Linked DNA regions of Homo sapiens: regions 2 and 3 are each linked to region 1. The links are contacts of gene promoters, found by promoter capture Hi-C in blood cells and fetal thymus (Javierre and others, 2016). All regions are on one chromosome and are shown on one strand. Each heading gives the region's core, a stretch centred on a gene start or on the middle of the fragment in contact. The rest is flanking DNA. Distances are from core to core; before and after follow the strand shown.

Region 1 (5,155 bases), core at 1,017-3,516:
CGGGTAAGTATTTCCAAACAAAATGAGAGAAATAGGATTGCATACAAACTTTTCCAGAGGCACTTTTATGCTTTTCTGGGTCCCGCCCTATTCAGCCATGACTGTATATTTCTTCCCAGCATGAAACATCCCTGTCTCCTTGTTATTAAGGAATTAGCCAGAAATCATCTTGGAGTCCTCTGATTTGGTAAATATCAAGGAGAAAAAAAGAACTAGGAGCTGTCTTTTAGCTTTGATAGGCAGAGCAGTATGCTAGAAAACACCAGATCTGGGCCTGGCGTGGTGGCTCACGCCTGTAATCCCAGCATTTTGGGAGGCCGAGGCAGGAGGATCTCTTGAGGCCAGAAGTTTGAGACCAGCATGTGTAACACAGTGAGATCCCACCTCTACAAAAAATCAAAAAATTAGCCAGTCATGATGGTGTACACCTGTGATCTCAGCTACACAGGAGGCCAAGGTCGGGGGATCACTTGAGCCTGGGAGATCAGGTTTGCAGTGAGCTATGATCGCACCACTGCATTCCAGCCTGGGGAGCAAGCAAGACCCTATATTAAAAAAAAAAAAAAAAGAAAGAAAGCACAAGAGGTCAGTCCTGAGTGGCTCCTAGGCCTAGCAAATCCTGAGCCTCTGTTTCTTCAGCTAAAGGAAAGATACTACTCTAATGTTTTAACCCTAGGGTTGTTAAGGATCAAAAGAAATGGAGATTGGGAGGCCAAGGCGGGAGGATCGCTTGAGCCCAGGAGTTTGCGACAAGCCTGGGCAACAGAGTTGAGATTCTGCCTCTGCAAAAAAAAAAAATTAAAATATAAAAAAGAGACGGAGGGAACAGACACAGGTAGTGCATTCCAGAGCGCTGTCATAGCTGTGTAGGTTGTAGTTATCACTAAATGAGAAAAGCTAAATTCAAGCGAGTTATGCAAACGAGGCGTTTGGCAACTTTTACTTGCATGCTTATGGTTTTCTGGGGAAATTCAAATGCGGGCTCCGGAGCCGCAGCCCTGAGCGTCCCGGGGGTGGCCATGGCGCCACCTGCCGGCCGAGAGGAAGGAGACGCCTGGCGGGTCCCGGCGCCCGGGCCCGGTGACCCTGCGCCCTCTCCAACCCCGCCACGGAGCCACCCGATCCCAGCCGGTTCCACGTCCCGGGGTGGCTGGGGAGTCGCAGCCGAGGATCCTCCGCGGCCTCAGCCCCAAAGACTGGGCGGGAATGACCCCTCTGGTGTCCTGGGGCCGCTGATAGGAGAGGGGTGCCCGGGACGCGAGGCCTTGGCCACCCGAGAACCTGCTCCGCGACACAAAGCCGCAGCCGCGCAGGTGAGCGGCAGAGCCACGTGAGCGGCCGAACGCCCCGGGCAGAGCCCCAGCCCCAGCCACGGCGGTCGGAACCACCTCTACTCGGAGCCCGGAACGAGGGGGCGAAGGTTGGGGAAGCGAAGAAAGGAAGGGACAGGGTGGGCGCGGCCAGAGACCACCGCAGCCCCGGAGCCGGACCCGAACCTTCAGCCCCCGCAACCCCGCAGCCCCGCAGCCCCGCGGCCCCAACCCCCAGCCTCCTCCATCGCTCGTTCCAGCTGCCCCGTCTGCAGCCCCCAACCCCCGCCGCCCCGCGCCCCAGCCCCCAATCGCCCTGCACCCAAGGCCCTTCGGTCTTTCCCCCCGTGACCCCAACCCCCAGCCACCGCCATTTCGTCCCAGTTGCCCCGTGTCCCCTGCCCCTGGCATCCGCCACCCCGCGCCCCCAGGCCCGAATCGCCCCGCACCCCAACCCCCTCCAGCTCTCGTTCCAGCTGCCCGGTGTCTGCAGCCCCCAGTCCCCGCTGCCCTGCGCCCCCAAGTCCCGGATCGCCCCGCTCTCCAGCCCCCAAGCCTCGCTCCAGCCACCCAGTGGCCAGGGCCCCCGCTGTCCGCTCCCTCCCCCCACCCCCCGGCCCCTCGGCCCCGAGCTACTCACCGGCGGCTCGCGTAGCCGCTGCCAGGGGAGCCGGCGCCGGGCTCGGGGTAGCCGTGCTGCTGCAGAGCTGCGGCCGAGAAGGGATAGAGGAAGCCGGTGGCCAGCGCCGACCCGCAGAGGCAGCAACACGCCCAGGGCAGGAGCAGGGCCAGCTTCATCGTGCGCAGCAGCCCGCGGGGACCCGGAGTCCCGGGCACGAGGACCGGCAGGAGCGCACCGGCGCCCGGACCGAACCCGCGGCACCGGCCGGGAGCACAGCGAGAGGAGCGGGGCGAGCGGTCGGAGCCCGGGTGCGAGCTGGAAATGTGTGGGGGGCGCCCACGCCTCTCCGGGGCCGCCTTTTCAAATTCGGCGAGGTGGGCTCTAAGCCGTCAAAGGGGGCGTGGGGCTTTTTTGTTAACCCTCGGCGGTCCGGGGCCGAGGAGGCGGCAGTGGCGGCAGAGCTAGGGTGCGAGCTCCGCAGGAGGTCCCTGGAGCCTAACACCCCGAAAGCCAGACCTCGCGCCCAGGCCCCCGCTACACACCTTAGAACCTTTGAAACCAAACCTTCTTCGGGTCCGCGAATGCTTTCGGAGCGCCCATTCTGTGTCTGCCAATTTCACCTGGACGATGTTGGTGAATCCTCGCCACACTGCCCTCGATGGTCCCATTCAGAAGTGGAAACTGAGGCTGGAGAAAGTTAAGCCAGACAAATGCGAGTCTTCCGATCCTTGTGCAGGGCTCTTTGGATCAAAGCGCTGCGTTCCCGTGAGAAACTGACCAGAGCTTCCCAGGATTCTCCTCCTTCCCCTTTAACCTCCAGCCCCCACCTGCCCCGCTGTCTCTTCCAGGTAAGAAGCTTTGGGAGGGGCGGAAGGGTCAGTTGGGGTGAGAAGTTGTAGCTAGATTGGGAGGCCGAGGTGGGCGGATCACCTGAGGTCAGGAGTTCGAGACCAGCCTGGCCAACATGGTGAAACCTCGTCTCTACTAAAAATACAAAAATTAGCCTAGTGTGGTGGCAGGTGCCTGTAATCTCAACTACAGGCTGGGCTGAGGCAAGCCAATCACTTGAACTCAGGAGGCGGAGGGTGCAGTGAGCCAATATCAGGCCACTGGCCTCCAGCCTGGATGACAAGGTGAGGCTCCATCTCAAAAAAAGAAAAAAGTTGTAGCTAGAATCACAGATTCATGAGACATCCTATCCAGAAAAGGGCTTCAGGAAGATGTAGGACAATCCCACCTTTTATAAACAGAAAAGCAGAGTCCTAGATCCCATGCTGGGCCCAAGGCCAGCCTGGACCCAAGTTTTGGTCTTTTCTATGTTGCAGGATTCCCATAGGGCTTGGACCCTGCTCCAGGCCCAGGTGGGACCAGAAATCCAGCCCGTACTCTACTCGCCCGGGTTAGGAGCATTTTGTTCCTTTTTTTTTTTTTCTTTTTCTTTTTTTTTTTTTTTTGAGTTGGAGTCTCGCTCTGTCACCCAGGCTGGAGTGCAGTGGTGCGATCTCGGCTCACTGCAACCTCTGCCTCCCGGGTTCAAGTGATTCTTCTGCCTCAGCCTCCCGAGTAGCTGGGATTACAGGCAAGCAATACCATTTCGGGTTAATTTTTGTATTTTTAGTAGAGACGGGGTTTCGCCATGTTGGCCAGGCTGGTTTCGAACTCCTGACCTCAGGTGATTCACCCACCTCCGCCTCCCAAAGTGCTGGGATTACAGGTGTGAGCCACCTAGCCCGGCCTGGGAGCTTTTTTCCTAATTCTTCCAAAAGCAACCTAAGGGTGCAGATGCCCTGAGGCTTGCTCTGCCCCTGTGACCAGTTGAAAACTCCTGTCTGTAAAATGCCTACAGGATGGAGAAAAACCATCAAATATGGAAGTGTTTGCTGGACTGGAGCACATTTTGCAAAAGGATTGTAGAGGCCAGTGGCAATGGCTCACTTCAGTAATCCTAATCCTTTGGAAGCCGGGCACAGTAGCTCACGCCTGTAATCCCAGCACTTTGGGAAGTTGAGGTGGGCAGATTACTTGAGGTCAGGAGTTCAAGACCAGCCTGGCTAACATGGTGAAACCCTGTCTCTACTAAAAAAATAGAAAAAATTAGCTGGGCGTAGTGGCATGCACTTGTAATCCCAGCTACTCAGGAGGCTGAGGCAGGGGAATCGCTTGAACCCGGGGTTGCAGTGAGCTGAGATCATGCCACTGCACTCCAGCCTGGGGGACAGAGTGAGACTCCGTCTCAAAAAACAAAACAACAAAGACCTAATGCTTTGGGAGGCTGAGGCGGGAGGATTGCTTAAGGCCAGGAGTTCGAGGCCAGCTTGGACAACATAGTGAGACCCCCCCATCTCTACAAAAAAAAAAAAAAAGCAAAGCGTGGAGGTGTGTGCCTGTAGTCCCAGCTACTCAGGAGTCTGAGGCAGGAGGATTGCTTGAGCCTAAGGGTTCAAGGCTGCAGTGAGCCATGATGGTGCCATGACACTTCAGCCTGGGTTACATACTGAGCCTGTCCTTCTCCCCTCAAAGAAGGATTGTAGGATTGTTGTTAGAAGACGACAGGAAGATGGCCAAGCATGGTGGCTCACGCCTGTAATCCCAGCACTTTGGGAGGCCAAGGCAGGTAAATCACAAGGTCAGGAGCTCGAGACCAGCCTGCCCAACATGGTGAAACCCCGTCTCTACTAAAAATACAAAAATTGGATAACTAGCCCTGCCCCTGCCCCTGCCCCTGCCCCTGCCCCTGCCCCTGCCTCTGCCTCTGCCTCTCCCTCTCCCCTCTCCCCTCTCCCTCTCGGTCTCCCTCTCCCTCTCTTTCCACGGTCTCCCTCTGATGCCGAGCCGAAGCTGGACTGTACTGCCTCTGCCTCTGCCTCTCCCTCTCCCCTCTCCCCTCTCCCCTCTCCTCTCGGTCTCCCTCTCCCTCTCTTTCCACGGTCTCCCTCTGATGCTGAGCCGAAGCTGGACTGTACTGCTGCCATCTCGGCTCACTGCAACCTCCCTGCCTGATTCTCCTGCCTCAGCCTGCCGAGTGCCTGCAATTGCAGGCGCGCGCCACCACGCCTGACTGGTTTTCATACTTTTTTGGTGGAGACGGGGTTTCGCTGTGTTGGCCGGGCTGGTCTCCAGCTCCTAACCGCGAGTGATCCGCCAGCCTTGGCCTCCCGAGGTGCCGGGATTGCAGACGGAGTCTGGTTCACTCAGTGCTCAATGGTGCCCAGGCTGGAGTGCA
Region 2 (5,155 bases), core at 1,896-4,395, 890 kb before region 1:
AACAGCCACCTCTGCAGAGCTCTCCCCCCACCTCCAGCCCGAGCGCCATCTGGAAAGAGACTCTTCTCAGTAGCCCCGTCATTCCAGAGACCCGCAAGCCACTGTCCCACTCGCAAGCATTAACTGGTGCCTTTCACTTGTCTTTCTGTTACATCAGGAGTCAGGGGCACAGTGAGACCCCCACACAGAAGGCTGAGGCCACGCCACTGACCAGCTGCAGGCCACACGGCAGAGGAGACTGGCCGTAGTCCTGGTCGCCCAAGTGCCATCGATTGGGGCTGCCACCACCAGCCCAGTGCCGCACCAGCACTGGCCACCATTCCTGGTTCCCCACAGCAAGCCTATATGACAGGAGATGGTGTCTCCATTTTACAGAAAAGGAAGCGGACGCCAGGGAGGGTAAGGGCTTGGTTCAAGGGTAGGCAAACAGTGCTGGTGACAACAGCAAGTAGGAACGCAGGCCCTGGCGAAGCCCTTCCTGTGAACCAGATGCAGATTGACAGAGCAGTGCCCGAGATCCCCATGTATCCTAGAACCACACGGTTTTCTGTGTGCCCGGAAGCCACACGCCCGAGGACCTGCGGACAGGTGCAAAGGGGACGACCTCGGGAACGGCGATTCTTGAGGTGCCCTTTGGACCTCGAATGACAGTGTTTGCTGCTCGTCCTCAGGCCAGAGCACTTTAAATAAAAACAACCCACACATTCTTGTGTTTGTATAAAAGATATTTACTTCAATTATCACACCTAGGGTGCTAGTGAATAATAATACATGGTGTGAGTCTCATACAGTGATATTGCTTCTCCGTATTATATAGGGACCGTTGTACAGTGCTGAGAACAAACATCGTATGGCTAACCAAAGACAGAGGGACAACACCAAGGGGCCGACGGGTGCCTCCCCCACCCCCACGCCAGCCAGGTCAACTTTGACTCTTAATGTAGAAAAACAAATAGCAAGAAATAAAATGTTACCAGAGAGATGTCACACAGCAACACACCAGAGGCATCTCAAAGCGATTTGTACAAAAAAAAAAAAAAAAGACGACTTTTTTTTTTTCCTTTTTTCTTTTTTGGTCAATTGGGTCTCTGTGAGGATTGGAGAAAAAAATCTGTGATTGTGAGGATGAACAAACAAGCTCTAGAAAGATCTAAGACTTGGTGCGTTACAGAAAATATAAAATACTGCTAAAATGTAAGACGTGACAAAACGCTAGAGTGGGGGTGGGGTGGGGGGAGCTGAGCTTATAGAGAGTTTTCCGGAAGATTCCGCCACCCTGTGAGTGCGTCTTGTGCTGTTAGTAGTCTGGACAGGAGCGTGGTGCTACCCGCTCTCAAGGCAAGCAGCAAAGAGTTATTGCACAAACGCAAAGAACTAGGTCTCTTATTCAATGCAAAGGGATGTGGGGAAAACCACCTTCTTTTTACCCCCACTTTTATTTTATAACAAGCTATTCTCCAATGTTTTAAGAATTTTGGGTGAATTCTCACATCTCCAGAATACACGGGATTTTTTTTTTCCAAGAGGTCTCAGATGGGGGTACGTGAGATGCCCGTTTTCTCAAGGGAAGAGGCAGAAGATGGTTTGAGAGAGAGAAATGCATAGACTAATTAGAGAAAAATGAAAAAAAAAAAGGCTTCTGGGGAGATGGGGACCATTGTTTCGGTGGAGGGTTTCTTTCAAAGAGAGAACAAAATCAGGGCCCCCGGCAATCTTGGAGAAGGGGAGGTGATGATATGGAAAGAGATGCTCTTCCCAGCCTACCTTGGGGTGAGCAGGGCCCTTGCCTTGGCCTGGGGTAAGTTTCCTTCTGCTGGGCCCATGGGATCAAGGCAGGGCGCCTCACCTTCACACCTGATTGGCAACAACTGGGTGTCCTGCTGGCTGAGCTTGGGGCCACAGCAAGCAATCTCCACACCCAACCTTCCTCCACGTTGAACCACCTATAGGGGAAAGGGGCCCTCTGCCTATGATCTCCTAGGTGAGCCCTCAAGCCACAGCCTGGTACTACAAAACACTGTTGCTTTGAAAGATGGTTTTGACCAACTTTGTACGCAAGAAAAACAACAACAAAAAACCAACCAAAACGTATCAACCCATGCGGGCCTTGCAAGAAATCACTCTCTCGCTTGGAGGTAAAGTCTTGGCCAGGCCACCGCGCCCTCTCTGACCACGGCTCGCCGAAACTTCATGAACCCAGAAGTCTTACCAGAGGCTCTAGGAGGCTTTGGGGAACTGAACTTGGCTTTGCTAAGATTCCTCTGAAGCTCCTCAAGCGAGCATTCTTCAACTCAGCAACTCCCTCACACGTTGGTAAATTTTTTTGTTCATAAACACTCTCATTTAAAAAGTTAGACACATAGAGACCACCAGTTTTTGAGTGGCTACTCTGGAGACAGGTGTTTGATTTTGCTGGGGAAACCCCCTCTGCCCCCCAGTCAATCCCCCAGACGCCTTGGTTCTCTGGGGGAGTAGGGGAGGAGAGGAAGGCAGAGGATAGTAACCACTAGAGTGACAGCAAAAAGCATTTATGACAACAAAACACAAAATAACAATACACTCCTGATAAGTACTTAAATGATTAACCTAATAATAAATAGAAGAGGATAGAAATAATTTTTTTTTTCTCAAGGAAACATCCTTTTATAATCACCCTCACGCACGCCGGCAGGTCAGTAGCAGTCAGTCCATTTCAACAAGACAAGATTAAGTGCTGGAAGGGATGGCTGTGGCCTCAGACACTGGGGAAGGGTCTCAGCTTCTGAATCACGGATACTCCCTATCCTGCCTCGTCAGGCCAGCGGCTCCGGCCAGAGCCCGCGGGCCCTGCACGCCCAGCACAGTGGTCACCAAGAGGCAGGCTGGGAGACTGGAGGGAGTCGGGGAGGCCTGTTTTCCCTTCGGTTCATGAACAAACGGAACTACAGTGAACAAACTCATTCATAACCTGAATCGTCCTGGTCTAAAGCTTACTTTGAGTTCATTTGGTGTGCAATACGTTATTTTTTTAAAATGAAGAAAAATGATTTCAATTGCACAGAGCTTTTACACATAGTCATCTATTTAAGTGCTTTCCGTTTAAAGCAAAGTACAAAAAAAATAATAAAATAATAAAAAAGAAGAAGGAAAAGGGGGGAAAAAAGAATTATAAAACAAAAGCAGCTCCGTGCCACTTCAATGTGTCTTGCTGAATGGTCTCTTGTTTCACCAGCAGAAGTCCCAATGCTTCCGTACACACTGTGCTTCTGATTAATTTCCATAGGGATGTAGCCGTGACATTGGGATATAAGGCACCTTTTCTTTCTGATTACAGAAAGCTTGATACATAGCATATAGCATATTTTGTGGTAGAAATTAAAGCGTAAACACTACAGAAATTACAGTAACGTAGACTAATGCTTTCTTAACATTATCGGGTAAACTAAAAGGATTCATGAAAAGCAACTCAAAGGCATCTTAAGAGTTTAAGAACGGGGGCATGGGGGAAGTGCACATTTATGCATAGCCAAATGTCTTTCTCTCGCCAGCCTTTTTTTTTTGTCTTTTTTTTTTTTTGGGATTTTTCGCCTACAATGCCCAACTTTTAAAGTTAGCATTTTGGAGGAGACTAGGCGCTTTGGAAATGTCTTGTTAAAGCTAAATGTCACTTCATCCAAAAATGAAAACTCGAGATGATGCCACGGATGGCATGGACACGGTTATCTTTGGAGGGAAGGTGGTGGTGGGAGAGGCCTGGGCAGGAGGAGGCAGTTTTTGGAAGTCGGGCAGACAGGCGGAAATTGCATTTCCTTCTATTCCCCTGACCAGGGTGGTGAGGAGCACAGGCCGCCGGGGCCTCTGGGATTGGGAAGACTGGGCTGGGGGGCCGGGAGTAGGGCTGGGGCTTGTTTTACGCTCTGCCCCCCACACCCCCTCCTCTTCCGTCCTGATTAAGCCCAAGGGTTGGTGGACTTAACTTTCAGCCCATCTCTAAGGGTTTCACAGACTGGATCTTTCTAAACTTTATTGGGTACCTGCTTCCCCTTTTCCCTGGTAGTTTTCATCTACAAAAAGTCAAAACCTGATCGAAATAGAAATAAGATCATCAAATTGGACCATTCTCTTAGCGTTCGAGTGTGCCGGCCAGACTGGCATTCAGTACACGCTGAGATCCAACCACATCACACTGGCCTCAGGTCACCACCTCGCCACTCAGGGCACAAGCCCTGCCCTTGTGGTCACAAAGGCTTCCCTAATGTCGTCGATGCCCAGGTGAAACCACAGAAGCACTGAGGGCTTTCTAAATGTGAGCTTTGGCTGGTCAATGCCCAAGCACAGGATGCTGTCCCCATCCTTAGGTTCTTACTTGCAAACTGTCTCCAGCAGGGGAACACTTTGGCCCCCACAGTGGACAGACCCACCTCCAACCACCAGCCCCAGGAGCTGATTTTCTTCGGTGCTGGATGGGAACTGGCATATTCTTTTGGGATAAGAGGGTGATGCCACTGTGGACGGGGCGTGTAGGCTGGAGGAAGCCATCTATCCTTTTCCGTCTTTGAGATGTTTGATGTTTGCAAAGGAGTGTTCGCAGTGACGCTAAAACCATGCCAGAGACAAGAGACACCCAAGAGCTACAGTGTTCCCCAAAGCCAGCTGGGAACTTTGGGGCAGTCCGGGACAAGGATAATGGCCATGATGGATCTTAACAGCTGAGCAGGACTGGACAGAAAGGAAGGCGGACCAAAGACAAGACCCTCGGAGCCCCGAGACCACGCCCTGCCTGCAAAAGAAACAGCTGCTGGAGCTTTGGGAACAGGTGGAAGGGAAACATCCGTGTGCCTTGCAGAGCACAGCTGTTTGTCCGTGTTGCGCTCACAAAAGGAGAGACACACAAAGCCGGCCCACCAGGCAGAGGGATGTTCGTGTCTGCTGCGCTGGCAGCTTTTCTGCTCTCTCCAGCCCACGTGCCTCACAGTTCTGTGGGGTGTGGTTCTGGGTGACATCAGATGGAGAAGACAGGTTAGTGAGGTAGAAGGGACAATGAGGAGTGTGAAGAAGAGGGAGGACATCTGGGGAGGGACAGGGCCCCCCACCGGCAGCACAGGAGCCAAACCTCCAGCCTAAAGTACCACAGCAAATAGCCCAGCACGCCCACCGCTCATGCCCCGTGTTGCTA
Region 3 (5,155 bases), core at 1,284-3,783, 880 kb before region 1:
CTCTATCACCCAGACTGGAGTGCAGTGGTGTGATCTCGGCTCACTGCAACCTCCGCCTTCTGGCCTCAAGTGATCCTCCCACCTCAGCCTCCTGAGTAGCTGGGGCTGTAGGTGCGTGTTACCACGCCTGGCTAATCCTGGATTTTGTCCTTGCGGGAGGTAGCTGGAACACGGGGAGGCCTGTGCGGGGCCAGGGCTGCCATTGTGGGGAAGTTTGCCTGAGTCTAGGGTCCACGTAGCAGGTGCGCTCAGTTCTCACAATGAGCAGCATCTTGTGACTTTGCCTCTATGGGCAATAAAGGTGTGATTTGGACTCTGACCTAATATTTTAGTTTCCCAATTTGTTCAGAGCCTGGGTGGTTTACTGGGCCCCTTTAGGAACTCCAGTGGACCTTATGGGGGAGGGAGGGCCCGGTGAGAGACACAACTTCCCCTCCAGCCTGACTGTGACTTTGTGCTGCCCATGACTGTGTCATGTGCACAGCTGGGAGGGCCCCACTGCCATCGGCTAGACCTACGTAGGGTGACCTTGGTTGAACCAGGAGCACCTACCCCAATGTTATCGTGCCCTAGGGACAATGGGAAGCAGCACCTGAGATGGTCAATGGCAAGGCACTAGCTTAGGGATCTCCATCAGGGCCCTGGAATTCTTGGTTTCTAGCAGCAGAGAGTATGGTTATAGCTATGATCAGCAACTCAGGATCCTTCAGTGGGTTTCCTCCATCTACTCCAAACACTTCATCCCAGTGCACTTTGTTCTACCAAGACAGCACTGGGGCCTGACCTCCTTAGCCCCTCTGAGTTCTATATTTTTCATCTGTAGAATGAAGAGAACTGGCTGGGTGCGGTGGCTCATGCCTGTAATCCCAGCACTTTGGGAGGCCGAGGCAGGCGGATCACTTGAGGTCAGGAGTTCGAGACCAGCCTGGCCAATATGATGAAACCCGTCTCTACTAAAAATACAAAAATTAGCCAGGCGTGGTGGTGCACACCTGTAGTCTCAGCCACTCAGGAGGCTGAGGCAGGAGAGTCGCTTGAACCTGGGAGAAGGAGGCTGCAGTGAGCCGAGATCGTGCCACTGCACTCCAACCTGGGCGACAGAGCAAGGCTCCGTCTCAAACAACAACAACAACAAAAAAGGAATGACAAGAATAAGGTATCTCATATACATTTGTGAGCTGTGAGGATTAAGTGATATAACTCGGTGAAATACTTAGCTCAGAATCTGAGATCTAGAAGATGCTCAATCTGTCTTCATTAACTCATGAACTTTCCCAAATGCAAAGGTCTTAAATGACTTCATTTATTTAATTACAGAACTAATCAAACTAATTTGGAAGATAACATGGCAGAAGACCCCGAGAAAGCACTGCAAAATCACTAAGAAATAAAAGTTCAGGCCAGGTGTGGTGGCTCATGTCTATAATCACAAGGCTTTGGGAGGTTGAGGTGGTAGGACTGCTTGAGGCCAGGAGTTTGAGACCAGCTTGGGCAACAGAGCGAGACCCCTGTCTCTATAAAAAATCAGCAGGCATGGTGGTGCATTGGCATCCTAGCTACTCAGGAGGCTGAGGTGGGAGGACTGCCTGAGCCCAGGAGTTCCAGCCTGCAGTAAGCTATGATTGCACCACTGCACTTTAGCCTGGGTGACAGAGCAAGCCCTTGTCTCTAAAAATAAATAAATATGAATATAACTATAAATATAGATATATATAAACTAAACCACAAAAGTTTCACTCCTTTTGAACCATGAATGCCTACACTCTCCCTTATTAAATGATGTAATCGAGAGGTGATTTTCTTTCTGGGTCATGGCAGATACCACCTGTTTCTAACTATGTGACAGTGACGGGAAGGGACGTGGCCTTACATCTCTGCAGTTAAAACCTCCAATAACACCTAAGGAACTGCCAGGCGTGGTGGCTCACGCCTGTAATCCCAGCACTTTGCGGGGCCGAGGTGGGCAGATCACCTGAGGTCAGGATGTTTGAGACAAGCCTGACCAACATAGTGAAACCCCGTCTCTACTAAAAATACAAAAATTAGCCGGGCTTGGTGGTGCATGCCTGTAATCCCAGCTACTTGGGAGGCTGACGCAGGAGAACTGCTTAAACCCAGGAGGCGGAGGTTGCAGTGAGCCGAGATTGCGCCAATGCACTCTAGCCTGGGCAACAAGATTGAAACTCCATCTCAAAAGAAAAGAAAAGAAAAGAAAAAAAAAACCCTAAGGGACCAAGGAACGGACCAATCACCGAGCTCCCAGCGCCCCACCTCCGGCCCCAGCCTCACCCCTGTGCGCCATGGCGGCCTCCGGACAGATCAGCCCCTTCCCCTGGGCCGACCGGCGCTCCCTGTGAGCCAGCCGTCGTACCTGTAGTTGTGGAACCAGTTGATGACGGTGCTGGTTTTCAGGTTGAGCTGGGTGGCGAGGTCTTCGATGGTTTTTGGTGACGGGTATGGCTTTTGCTGATACGCTCGTTTCAGCGCCTCCTTCTCCTCCGGAGCCAGCACCACCCGGGGTTTCTTCAGCTGGTGCTGGGGCTGGGGGCTGGCGCCCTGGCTGTACTCGGTGCCGACAGAGGGCGGTTCGCAGGGCTGGCTGTCACTGACTGAGCTGTGCCGCCGCTTCATGTAGGCTGCGGAGGAAGAGATGGCAGACTAAGGTCAGGCCCAGCTGGGACAGCAGCCCAAATCCCCAGTCCCGCTAGCGGGACGGCACAGTGCCGGCTTGCAGGACTTTGCATAGAGCATCTCAAAACACTAAGATGAGGCTGGGCATGGTGGCTCATGCCTGTAATCCAAGCACTTTGGGAGGCCGAGGCAGGCAGATCACTTGATGTCAGGAGTTCAAGACCAGCCTGGCCAATATGGTGAAACCCCGTCTCTACTAAAAGTACAAAAATCAGCTGGGCGTGGTGGTACGCACCTGTAATCCCAGCTACTAGGGAGGCTGAGGCAGAATTGCATGAACCTGGGAGGTGGAGGTTGCAGTGAGATGAGATGGTGCCACTGCACTCCAGCCTGAGTAACAGAGCAAGATTCCGTCTCAAACAAAACAAAACAAAACAAAACAAAAGAAACAACGCTAAGATGAGAGCCATTCTGTTACCAGCACATGCTCACCAAGGACCTGCTCTGACGGAATGTCAGGTCCTCACCTGTCCCTGCACAACTTAACAGTTTAGTAGGGGAGGCAGAGAAGTATCCAGAGAGATGTTCCCAGCAGAGTGAAAAGTGGGGTGGGGGTAAGTAAGTGCAAGAGACCATGGGGATACTGAGAAGAGTTCCTCGGCCAGGCCTGGGTGTGGGCGGCAAGCCACCCAGGTACCGAGGCAAGAGACCGAGGACACAAGCTGTTCTAGTATAATAAAATATAAAACAAGAATAGTTACACCAGATATAGATCTTAGATATGATTATATATGAATATCATTAATCATTAGTTTGTAGCAATTACTCTTTATTCCAATATTATAATAATCCTTGCTCTATAACCATAACCTAGGAAAAACCAGGCCATACAGAGATAGGAGATGAGGGGACACAGTGAGGAGTGACCAGAAGACAAGAGTGCGAGCCTTCTGTTATGCCCAGACAGGGCCACCAGAGGACTCCTTGGTCTAGAGGTAACGCCAGCGTCTGGGAAGACGCCCGTTGCCAGGCGGACCGTGGTCTAGCGGTAGCCTCAGTGTCAAGGAAAAACACAGGCTACTTAGCAGACCGGGAAAGGGAGTATCCCGGGAAAGGGAGTATCCCTTTCCCCGGGGGAGTTTAGAGAAGACTCTGCTCCTCCACCTCTTGTGGAGGGCCTGACATTGTCAGGCTTGCCCGCAGTTATCTGGAGGCCTAACCATCTCCCTGTGATGCTGTGCTTCAGTGGTCACGCTCCTAGTCTGCCTTCATGTTCCATCCTGTACACCTGGCTCTGCCTTCTAGATAGCAGTAGCAAATTAGTGAAAGTACTAAAAGTCTCTAATAATGGTGTAGGTTGTTTCTCTCTTTGTCTCCTCTCTCTCTCTGCCTCGGCTGCCAGGCAGGGAAGGGCCCCCTGTCCAGTGGACATGTGACCCACGTGGCCTTACCTATGATTGGAGATGGTTCACTCTCCTTATCCTGCCCCTTTGTCTTGTATCCAATAAATATCAGTGCAGCCTGGCATTTGGGGCCACTACCAGTCTCCACAACTTGGTGGTAGTGGTTCCCCGGGCCCAGCTGCCTTTTATCTCTTTGTCTTGTGTCTTTATTTCTATACTCTCTCGTCTCCACACACGGGGAGAGACCCACAGACCCTGTGGGGCTGGTCCCTACACCTGGGGAGGCAGAAGGGGAAGTTGCCTAGAAGAGATGATGTTTAAACTGAATCCTGAAGGACATCGCCGGGCGTGGTGGCTCTCGCCTATAATCTCTGCACTTTGGGAAGCTGAGATGGGAGGATTGCTCGAGCCTAGGAGTTTGAGACCAGCCTGGAGAACATAGAGAGACCCTGTCTCAAAAAAAATTTAAAAATTAGCCAGTGTGGTGGCGTGCACCTGTAGTCCCAGCTACTCGGGTAGCTGGGATGGGAGGATCACTTGAGCCCAGAACACCGAGGCTGCGTGCACCCGAGTAGCTGGGACGGGAGGATCACTTGAGCCCAGAACACCGAGGCTGCAGCAGTGAGCTATGATTGCATCACTGCCCTCCAGCCTGGGCAACAGAGACCCTGTCTCTAAAAAAATAAAATAAACAGCTTAGGCAAGGGATTTCCTTAATTAACTTGCCATTTTGTCATGAGAACTCAGAAGCAATTGAGAAGGTAAATCTTCCCCATAGAAAACCCAAACAGCGGAGTCAAAGCTGCTGGATCCAGAGAAAGGAGTTGGATTGTCCAACCGTGGGGACTCCCTCCAGTTCCCTCCTAGGGGACAGACGACTGACCAGGGGCTGGCAGGGGGCTGGAGAAGGCCTCTCTAGGGAGCAGCCTTTGTGGCCGGCACCCCCAGGAGTGAAGAGAAGGCCATCGGACCACAGCGGCTTTGGATACTAGGGCACCTTTGGAAAGGTCTGGGCCCCGCAGAAACAGTAATTCATTTGTAACACAAGAGGGCGCCCCGAGCCTGTGCCGAGGGAAAGATGGGAGGCCTGGGAAGCCCTGGAGATGTATTTGCGGGGACTA

What was found. Contacts are between HindIII fragments. The CHiCAGO score rates a contact against its expected background, and 5 or more counts as called.
Region 2: a contact is called between a fragment that was not itself captured here and the fragment with the promoter of COL26A1 in region 1, in 13 of 17 cell types (M0 macrophages, endothelial precursors, total B cells and 10 more). The highest score is 12.3, in M0 macrophages.
Region 3: a contact is called between a fragment that was not itself captured here and the fragment with the promoter of COL26A1 in region 1, in 4 of 17 cell types (M0 macrophages, naive B cells, fetal thymus and 1 more). The highest score is 7.3, in M0 macrophages.

Annotation. Positions count from the first base shown.
Region 1 is chr7:101,359,986-101,365,140 of GRCh38, reverse strand. It overlaps COL26A1 (collagen type XXVI alpha 1 chain), which reads right to left and starts at 2,266. Exons shown (of 13, transcript NM_001278563.3): 1 at 1,951-2,266. The coding sequence starts at 2,108. RefSeq lists a silencer at 893-1,132. The HindIII fragment of the contact is 2,872 bases long and covers 1-2,790 here.
Region 2 is chr7:102,253,786-102,258,940 of GRCh38, reverse strand. CUX1 (cut like homeobox 1) reads right to left here. Exons shown (of 24, transcript NM_181552.4): 24 at 708-5,155. Among named protein-coding and RNA genes, the nearest start is that of SH2B2, 31 kb to the left of the region's middle. The HindIII fragment of the contact is 349 bases long and covers 2,971-3,319 here.
Region 3 is chr7:102,236,801-102,241,955 of GRCh38, reverse strand. It overlaps CUX1 (cut like homeobox 1), which reads right to left. Exons shown (of 24, transcript NM_181552.4): 23 at 2,372-2,636. LOC124901711 (a long non-coding RNA gene) reads left to right here. Exons shown (of 3, transcript XR_007060458.1): 3 at 1,318-1,404. Among named protein-coding and RNA genes, the nearest start is that of SH2B2, 47 kb to the left of the region's middle. RefSeq lists a silencer at 1,826-1,895. The HindIII fragment of the contact is 5,463 bases long and covers 1-5,155 here.